2 separate regions of the Homo sapiens genome follow, and region 1 is linked to region 2. The links are contacts of gene promoters, found by promoter capture Hi-C in human tissues and cell types (Jung and others, 2019). All regions are on one chromosome and are shown on one strand. Each heading gives the region's core, a stretch centred on a gene start or on the middle of the fragment in contact. The rest is flanking DNA. Distances are from core to core; before and after follow the strand shown.

Region 1 (5,025 bases), core at 1,000-3,499, 200 kb before region 2:
GGAGAATTTTAGGTTGGAAATAATTTTCTCTTGGGATTTTGAAGGCATTGCTCCATTGTTTTGAATTAATTGGGAGATCTGATGCTTCTTCTGATTTATCATCTTTTGTATGTGACCCTTTTCTCACTGTCTTAGAAGCTTTTAGGAGCTCGTCTTAGTCCTGTTGGTGGTAAATCTCATTATGAGGTACCTTGGTATGGATCTATGTTCTTCCATTGTACTGGGTCCTTAGCATAGGGTGTTTCAATTTGGAAACATGTCATTTTGGTCTGTGTAATTTTCTCTTACAGTTTCTTTGATAATTTCCTTTCTTTGTTCTGAAATTCCTATTGGTTAGATGTTGGTCCTCAGAAAACTGAGCTTCTAATGTTTTCTCTGTTTCTCTTTTCAAACTCGTTTTTCTTTTTTTCTTTTTCTTTTTTTTGGAGAATGGGGTCTCAGTATGTTGCCCAGGCAGGTCTCAAACTCCTGGGCTCAAGTGATCGTCCTGCCTCTGCTTGCCAAAGTGCTGGGATTAGAGGTGTGGGCCACCGCACCTGGCCTCCTTGTTTCTCTTTTGTTCTATTTCTTTGTCCTTTGGTTCTGTTCAAGAGCCGATTTCCTCGACTTCATATGCTAGCCCTTCTACTAGCATTTTTATTTTGGATTATCTTATATTTTCAAGAGCTCTTTTTTGTTGTTGTTGTTCCTTTCTTACAGCGTCCTGTTCCATGAATGCAATTGTCTTCTCTTAGAGTATAAGTTACAGAATTTCAGGGAGTTTTATCTGTTGCCTCGGAGTTTCCTTTTTCTTTTTATTTCTGTATTTCCTGTTGGAGGCTTTCCCCCAAATGCTAAGCCAGCCTTGGATATGTGCTTATGCTTGAGTCGGCTGCTCAAAATATTGGTTACCCTGTTTTCAAACAGGGTAATTATGTTTTCAGTGTACTCAGAAGCTGCCTGAGGACTTAATTAAAACCAGCAGTTTAGCAAAGTTAGGGATCTGATATTCTGGAGCACAGATTTAAAAAAATCTATTCTCCTTAAAATCCTTTTATGAAACTTCGAGTAAGAGACCCGCTGAAACAGAGAGGAGAGAACACATTTCCACACTTGGCCACCTCTTGACTCTCCTGGATCCCATTAGGGGAGAGTGAGTGCTAGTTCTCTGCCAACCCAGGATTAGGCCCTAAGGCTGCCGTAAAAAGGATCCCAGGAGAAAACTCAGGAATAAAAGTGGAGAAAGTGAGACATCTGACTAAAATGACTAGAAGCCCTCAGGAAGTAAAAAAGGAAAAAGAAACCAAGAACCAGAAAACTCATCGGACCAGTTAATTCACCTTTGGAGTAACTGGAGATCCAGAGCTTCCTAAAAGATTAGAAATCTTCTGAAATTGAAGAGTTGAGGAAGAAGAATCAGGAATGGCCTAAAGCAGTTGCCCAGTGTCTCACACAGAAGGGCATGGAGAAGAACTGGCAGGAATGTCCCCAGATGGTGACAAGTTTGCAGGACTTTTACTGAATGACCCATGAGGCCACCCAGAGGCCCAGGAGCCAGCCCTGGCCCTGTCCTCATGGAAAGACTCTACACAGGATTTTGGGATACAAATGGAAGGACAACATGTTTTCAGGTCCTGCCTGGGCAGATGCAGTTGTCCTTCCAGCTCCGGAGTTCCAAACCCAGGCCTGTGCCATCCCCATTCACTTTGAGGGGCCGCTGTGGGCTCCCTGACCCATGAGCTGTGTGCAGGATCCTCGGGTACCCAGAGGGGCGCCCTTGATCATGAACCCCGCGTGTGGTCAGCTCTAGGTCTGTTTCCTGCCTTTCCTCCAGCAGCCCCTAGCCTCCCGCAGCAGTGGCCACTCTCTTCTGGTTCTGATCCAGGTCTTGAACTTGGGAGACAATTAGAACCTGGATCCCAATTCTGTCTGAAAGCAACAGAATAACATAATCTATACACTGGCGCATGACTCTTGGCCCAGCCCAATGTAATGAGAAATAAATGAATGACCATGACCTCAAAAGCAAAAAAAAAAAAAAAACAAACAAAAAAACTGAGCAACCAGACAGATGTTCTGGAGGGCCTGAGTTTGCCAGATCACAACTGTGATCTATAAAGTGAAATAAGATCTTTATCACCTTGAAAGAACATGAATGAAATAGAAAACTAATTGGAGACTCAAAACTTGTTTGGAAAGAGGCGCTATACATAGGTGGGGCATGTGCAGACCGGTGGGTTTCCCTGTCAATCAAGCAACTGGGTGGGGACCTGGCTCTCCAGGGATCCGTGCGTTCCTTCTGTTCTTCTGTGGTGCCATCTTCCCGCTTCCCGTGGGAAGGGAGCAACTGGGCAGGGACCAGACTGCCCACTCTTCAATGTCTCCCTATTCTCAACTCCGCGGCTCCTCCTTCCCGTCACTGTGTCTTTGTCCCTGCATCTGAGCCTGTCTGCCTCAGTTTCCCCAGACAGTAAATCTCCTGTCTCCAGCAGGGGTGGGTTGCCTGCCCCTTTGATCAACTCCCCCTTGTCTGTCATTTAGGTATCAGGTAAATTGTCACTTCCTCCTAGAAGCCTTTGCTGACCTAACCAATTTTTATCAAATTCCTTCTTTATTGTTTTTCTTCACAGCCCTCAGCATTTCTACCTGTGTTTTTTGTTTGGTTTTTTGTTTGTTTGTTTGTTTGTTTGTTTGTTTTGAGACAGGGTCTCCCTCTGTTGCCCAGGCTGGAGTGCATTGCACCATTACAGCCACTGCAGCCTCCACCTCAGCCTCCCAAGTAGCTGGGATATAGGTGAGCACCACCGTGCCTGGCTAATTTTTGTATTTGTTGTAGAGATGGGGTCTCGCTTTGTTGCCCAGGCTAGACTCAAACTCCTAGACTCAAGTGATCCTCCTGCCTTGGCCTCCCAAAGTGCTGGGATTACAGGCATGAGCCACTGCGCTTGACCTTCCAATGTTTTATTATGAAAAAATTGCATTCAGAAGAGTTGGATGAATGGTACAGTGATTACCAGCATCCTCTCATACTAGGTTCTGCTATTAACAGTTGACCCCACTTGCCTCATCACCTCTCTCTCTGCATATCCAGCCCTCTTATTTTTTCCGTGCAGTTGAAAGTAAATTGTAGACATGGATACCTCTCACTCCTAAACGTTTCAGCATGTGTTTCATTAAGCACAGTGAAATGTATAAATCTCCATGGTGCGATTGGATGAGTTTTGACAGGTGTATACATCTGGGTGATCCAAACACCTGTCATGAGTCACAACATTACCAACGTCCTAGAAAGTTCCCTCATGCCTAGTTATTCCCAGTTTTGAGATTTGTCCATTGCGGCTGTGATGAGACTCTCGGGACCTCCAGCTGCCTGCTAGAAGCTTCCTCTCTACCCCGTGTACCAGATTCTCCTTCTTTGTTGCTTGCAGGAGCCTTGAACCTGGATAGTCCATGGCTGATGGTCTCTGCAGCTCACAGGCTATACTGGCCACACCGAGCTGTGTTCCAGGCTGTCCTGGAGCTAACGCTGGGCAAGGCCTGGACCCTAAAGGACCTGGTGGTCAGCGTGGGCTGCAGGAGTCAGGGCCCCAACAGGGAAGGCAAGATCCAGGTTTACACCGCAGCTACCACCTACCTCCGGGTGAGCAGTGCTCGGCCCCCGATATATGTCTGGTCCCCTGCCACTGAGATCTTTTTCTGGTGCAGAGGCGGATGAAAGCTGAGGTCTGTGGGCAGATAGCAGCTCACAGGTGTGTGAAGTCTGGCCCTCCCAGTGCCTGCAACTATCAGAGTTTAGTTCCTAAGTGACGTAGAAGAATTAGACCTAAAAAAAGAAAATCTAGATTTCCCACATCCCTGCTCGGCAGATGACGGGGAGAGAAATATAAAATAGGAAAGCAAGTCAAACGGGACTTTGGAAACAGATGGACATTCGGCTTTTGCCAAAAAAACAGAGTGAAAATTTCTAGGACGTAAGTCGGTTTGATGCCGACTACTGACTGTCATGATGTTGCTTCTCTGCACACGTTTGGTGCAGAAGCAAGAACAGGTTTGGGAGAAAAGCCATGAGTGTCATCTGCAGGGCTGAGGGAGCCTGGTGGGTGGACTGTCTGGGTGATGCGTGGATGTGGGGAAGGTCTGGGCCTTGATTGGGCTCATCCGAGGGCAGCACAGTCCCCTCTGAGGCAGGGCTGGGTGGCACCAGGTTGGAGTCAAGAGCGGTGGTAATCTTAGGGACCATGAGGAGGCCTCTGTGTAACAGAGGATGCCAAGACAGGAGAGCAAGGTGTGGTCGGCTAGCCGGCTCCTGCCCTTCACCCAACCAGAGGGCATGGCGGCCTGGCCCGGGGTGGTGGCAGTGGAGGTGCCGGCAAGTGTCCAGATCCTGGAGATGCCAGATTTGCTGATGGACTAGTGGTGGGGAAGGAGTGAAGGAAAGGAAATAAATGGCTCTGAGGTCTTGGCCCAAGCATCTGGTGGGATGGAAGTGCCATTCTAGGAAATGGGGAAGTTGATGGTGGGGAACCAAGGATCAGTGACATGGGACAAAGTGTTACGAAGTTCTGGTATTGGGTTGGAGGCTCAGCCACGCCCAAACCCTGTCTTGTCCTTGTCACTTCTCCTGGTGAGACCCCTGAGTTGTGTGAACAAGGGATGGTGGCCAACAGGGAACCATCCCATGGGGGGCTTGTGCCAGGGTGGCGGCTGCAAATGCCCTACCTCCCCTAGCTCTGAAACGAGCCAGATGACACCCACCTCTTCCTAGGACTCCCGAAGACCATGGTGATGGTGCAGGGAGAGAAGGCCACCTGCCAGCATGTGCCCTTCAGGGTACAGACACCCTGGCTACTAGTAATAGCGGCCCAACAAGATCAGATTCCCTCCCCAAACTGAAGAGGAGAAAAGGAAATTATTTCTGCTCAGGGTTGGGGCAACAGAGAGGAGTTTTTCTTCTTGTTTCAAGGCCCTGTAGAGAAAACTAGCCTACCTGCACCAGTCAGGTTAGGCGTCAGAGAAATGGCATTGAAGGGGTTTTGAGGGATGAAG
Region 2 (4,802 bases), core at 1,780-4,279:
GCTGTGGATATAGGGCTGGTCCATCCGCCCTGTGACAAGAGGTCATTGTGCCAAGCACCGACTCCATGCCTGGCATTTTGCCCTTGGCTCTGCATGTCTGGCTGCTCTGTGAGGTACGAGATGTCCAGAGATCACTTTGCAGTTGGGGCAAATCAGGTCCCAAGAGGACAGGTCACTTGCCCAAGGTCATGCAGCAGGTCTGGGGTCAGAGCCTGGTCCCATCCTACCGAGCACTCTGAGCCCCTCAGGGTTTCGCACTGCCTGGCTTCCTGTGAGCCTGGTGCCCAGCCCTCCAGCAGAACAGCCCACAAGGTGGATGCTTGTCAACCAGCAGATTTCCTTTTCTCTTTCGGCATCTGGATTTGGTTTCATTTTGAACACAGGACTTCAGAAAATGAAACCAAAGCTGTCTGTCACTGGTGGCAGTGAGGAGAACCCACGTGTGCTGAGTGTACCTTTAGAAGCTTTCCTGCTCCCTTGCTGTGCCTTCCCTGGCCTGTGGTCCCTGGACTAGGGCTTCAAACATAGATATAAGGCAGTGCTTTGGGAAGCCAGGGCAGGAGGGTCACTAAAGGACAGGAGTTCGAGACCAGCCTGGGCAACGTAGTGAGACCCCATCCCTACAAAAAATTTAAAAAATTAGCCGGGTGTGGTGGCATGTGCCTGTAGTCTCAGCTACTCAGGAGGCTGAGATGGGAGAATCTCTTGAGCCCAGGAGGTCGAGGCTATAGTGCCTCCTCGATCCTATCACTACACTCCAGCCTGAGCAACAGAGCTACACTCCATCTCTTTAAAAAAATGGACACAGGGGTTGAAGCCATGCGTCTGTGGGCTCCAACACACTGCCACACCCACAGGCACCCTCAGATGAACAACAAACATCTACCGACTGCTTATTAGACACTACGGGCTGTTTTAAGCACCTGACCCATAATCACTCATTTAATTCCCATACAACCCCGGGATGGAGGTACTATTTATTTATTTTTTTTTGAGACAGGGTCTTAGTCTGTTGCCCCGGCTGGAGTGCAGTGACACAATCGTGGCTCACTGCAGCCTTGACCTCCTGGGCTCAGGCAATCCTCCTGCTTCAGCCTCCCAAGTAGCTGGGACTGCAGGTGCAATCCACTACGACTGGCTGATTTTTGTACTATTTTTTTTTTTTTTTTTTTTTTTTTGTAGAGAGGGGGTCTCACTTTGTTGCCCAGGCTGTTCTCAAACTCCTGGGCTCAAGCAATCCTCCTGTCTTGGCCTTCCAAGTGCTGGGATTATAGGCATGAGCTACTGCGCCCTGCTAGAGGTACTATTATTATCCCCATTTCACAGATAAAGAAACCATGGCAGAGAGGTTAATTACATGCTCAAGGTCACAAGAATAGAAAGGTGCAGATTTGGAACTGGGTCTCCTTGTATTCCATCACCCTCCACAGAGTGTGGCCTCCAGCAGATGTTCAGTGGACATCTCTCGAATGATCACACACCTGACCTCTGGTGCAGGCAAGGTTCTGCATCTTCTCTCACCCCCTCACGCACGCGCACGCACACACACGCACAACCTAGGAGGCTACACCAATGACCACCACCAGCCCTGGCCACATGCAGATTCAGGGCACTGATGGGGTGCTAAGCTGGGCTGATTCTGGGCCACTCCCTGTGTTCAGGAGGTTAATAAGGACCTAGGCTCTGCCTGGGGAAAGAGGTATCGTGGGGCCAGGGAGGCGGGAAGGGACTGGGCACCAGGGCTTCCAGGAGAGAAGCCGTCTGAGAGCTGTCTGTAGAGGGCAGTGTGTCCCAGTGTGAGGCCAGTAACCAAGTGCCCAGCCTAGCCAGGTTTTTATGTGGCCCCTTGTGATGCTGGGGCTCCTCACATGCCTTCATTCAAAAATACACGGAGCAGCCAGGCACCTACTCCATGGCCTCGCACGACAATCGGAATCACTAAATCACAAACACGTGTGCAAATTACAGCCCCGACCACCGACCGCCCACCATCCCAAGCCCCGGCCGTGTGTGTGGTGGGAAGGCAGTCTTTGAAGGGCAGATGCCTGACGGAGCAGTAGGAGGGGGAAATCTATGAGGAAGGGGTCGGGGGAGAGGAGGGCTAGGAAACCAGGTTTGGGGATTCATCACGTCTGAGAATGCACCATTTTTTCACTGGGCTCCAATTTGATGTCGTCCAGCTGCACCTCTCCCCAAAATGAAGACGGGGAAGGCGAGATCCAGGTCCAGAGCTCCCAATCTGCAAGCCATTGCAAATCCCAGCCCCTCCCCAGCCTCAGTTTCTTCCGCAGCCGGGTAGTGGGAGCGCAGGGAGGGCAGTCGAGGCCACCAGGGACCTTGCCCGGCCCCGCCCAGTTTCCGAGGAACTGGGCCGGGGTGGAGGCGCCCGCGCCGCCAGGGGTTCCTCTGAAGCCTGTGGTCAGGCCGCCGCTTCCCGGGAAGCCCGAGCCAAGACCAGAGACCGCGGCCGGCCGGGGCTTCGGGACAGCAGGGCGGGCGACTGAGGGCGTCGACGGCGGGTGGAGCAGGGGCTAGGAGGGGGTCTACGGGTGGGGTCAGGCTCAGGGTTGGGGACACCTTCTGTGGCCTCCTAGGGGGATCTGGCTGCAGGGGAGGAGAGGACAGGGCTCTGCCCCCGGCGGGTGTGGAGACAGCTGGGGCGGAGGAGGGTGTGTCAGGGCGCGTCCCAAGAGGGCCTGGCGGCAGAAAGTGGAACCCGAGGTAGCGGGGCAAAATCGGGGTCGCCAAGTCCGAAGGAGGGGTCCGAGAAGTGGCCGGAAGGCGCAGGGTCGGGGCCAGAGCCCCTCGAGAGGCGGGTGCTGGGGCAGGTGCGAACAGGCGGGCAGAGGGCCCCGCGGGAGGGTCCAGAAGAGAGGGAAACAGGGCCGAAGCGGTCCTCGCCGGACGCCACCGCGGAAAGAGAAACCAAAAGTGGAGCTGGGGGCGGGGCCGGCAGGGGGCGGGGCCTCCCGCCGTCGCCAGCCCCGCCTCCGAGCCGGTTTAAAAGACTGGCGCAGGGGCGGGCGCCGAACAGAGCGAGCTGCGGCCGTGGCAGCTGCACGGCTCCTGGCCCCGGAGCATGCGCGAGAGCCGCCCCGGAGCGCCCCGGAGCCCCCCGCCGTCCCGCCCGCGGCGTCCCGCGCCCCGCCGCCAGGTGAGCCGGGCCCTGGGCGAGGAGGCGGGAGGGAGGAGGGAGGGGAGTCCAGGGCAGCCAGGAGTCGGGCGAGCCTCGGGGGCTGCAGAATGGGGTCGCGGCCGCGATGCCCCTGACCCTCGCCGGCCCCACCCAGGCCGCCCCCCGCGCGCGGGGCTCCCGCAGCACAGCCTTTCTCCGGCCCTAGCCCAAATCGCCCAGACCAGGCGCGGATCCCAGCCTGGCCAGCAGGCGGCGGGCGCGGGGCGGCGAGCCGGGGCCGGACGGCTGGAGCCAGAACCGGCTGCTCTCCACGCCCCCCTCTCGGTGCTGCCCGGAGGCCGGACTCCGCCTCCACCGAGCCCCCACCCGCCGGGAAGAGCTCCGCGGAGTACAGAGCCCATTTTCTAGCTGTGTCCACTGAGGCTGAACGGATCCGCGCGGACTTGGTGCTCCGTGCTCGCCCCCTAGGGCCGGGTCCGCCGGGAGCGCCGCCCTCCGGAGTTGTCCGGCCGGCGCACACCTGCCCGGCCCCGCAGCGCCCCAGCTCACCTCTTTGTCTCTCCCGCAGCGCACCCCCGGACGCTATGGCCCACCCCTCCGGCTGGCCCCTTCTGTAGGATGGTAGCACACAACCAGGTGGCAGCCGACAATGCAGTCTCCACAGCAGCAGAGCCCCGACGGCGGCCAGAACCTTCCTCCTCTTCCTCCTCCTCGCCCGCGGCCCCCGCGCGCCCGCGGCCGTGCCCCGCGGTCCCGGCCCCGGCCCCCGGCGACACGCACTTCCGCACATTCCGTTCGCACGCCGATTACCGGCGCATCACGCGCGCCAGCGCGCTCCTGGACGCCTGCGGATTCTACTGGGGGCCCCTGAGCGTGCACGGGGCGCACGAGCGGCTGCGCGCCGAGCCCGTGGGCACCTTCCTGGTGCGCGACAGCCGCCAGCGGAACTGCTTTTTCGCCCTTAGCGTGAAGATGGCCTCGGGACCCACGAGCATCCGCGTGCACTTTCAGGCCGGCCGCTTTCACCTGGATGGCAGCCGCGAGAGCTTCGACTGCCTCTTCGAGCTGCTGGAGCACTACGTGGCGGCGCCGCGCCGCATGCTGGGGGCCCCGCTGCGCCAGCGCCGCGTGCGGCCGCTGCAGGAGCTGTGCCGCCAGCGCATCGTGGCCACCGTGGGCCGCGAGAACCTGGCTCGCATCCCCCTCAACCCCGTCCTCCGCGACTACCTGAGCTCCTTCCCCTTCCAGATTTGACCGGCAGCGCCCGCCGTGCACGCAGCATTAACTGGGATGCCGTGTTATTTTGTTATTACTTGCCTGGAACCATGTGGGTACCCTCCCCGGCCTGGGTTGGAGGGAGCGGATGGGTGTAGGGGCGAGGCGCCTCCCGCCCTCGGCTGGAGACGAGGCCGCAGACCCCTTCTCACCTCTTGAGGGGGTCCTCCCCCTCCTGGTGCTCCCTCTGGGTCCCCCTGGTTGTTGTAGCAGCTTAACTGTATCTGGAGCCAGGACCTGAACTCGCACCTCCTACCTCTTCATGTTTACATATACCCAGTATCTTTGCACAAACCAGGGGTTGGGGGAGGGTCTCTGGCTTTATTTTTCTGCTGTGCAGAATCCTATTTTATATTTTTTAAAGTCAGTTTAGGTAATAAACTTTATTATG

The links. The method cuts DNA at HindIII sites, captures the fragments that hold promoters and counts their contacts. A contact is called where the count stands out against the background at its distance.
Region 1: a contact is called between a fragment that was not itself captured here and the fragment with the promoter of SOCS1 in region 2, in 1 of the 25 tissues and cell types used here (heart right ventricle).

The regions. Positions count from the first base shown.
Region 1 is chr16:11,449,203-11,454,227 of GRCh38, reverse strand. It overlaps LOC400499 (putative uncharacterized protein LOC400499), which reads left to right. Exons shown (of 67, transcript NM_001370704.1): 29 at 3,408-3,619. Among named protein-coding and RNA genes, the nearest start is that of RMI2, 110 kb to the right of the region's middle. The HindIII fragment of the contact is 4,697 bases long and covers 1-4,597 here.
Region 2 is chr16:11,254,431-11,259,232 of GRCh38, reverse strand. SOCS1 (suppressor of cytokine signaling 1) reads left to right here and starts at 3,029. Exons shown (of 2, transcript NM_003745.2): 1 at 3,029-3,154; 2 at 3,705-4,802. The coding sequence starts at 3,755. The coding sequence ends at 4,390. The region is part of intron 1 of LOC105371082 (a long non-coding RNA gene); the gene reads right to left. RefSeq lists an enhancer at 253-482 and silencers at 2,384-2,583, 2,834-3,573, 3,674-3,723, 3,734-3,883, 4,294-4,383. The HindIII fragment of the contact is 22,451 bases long and covers 1-4,802 here.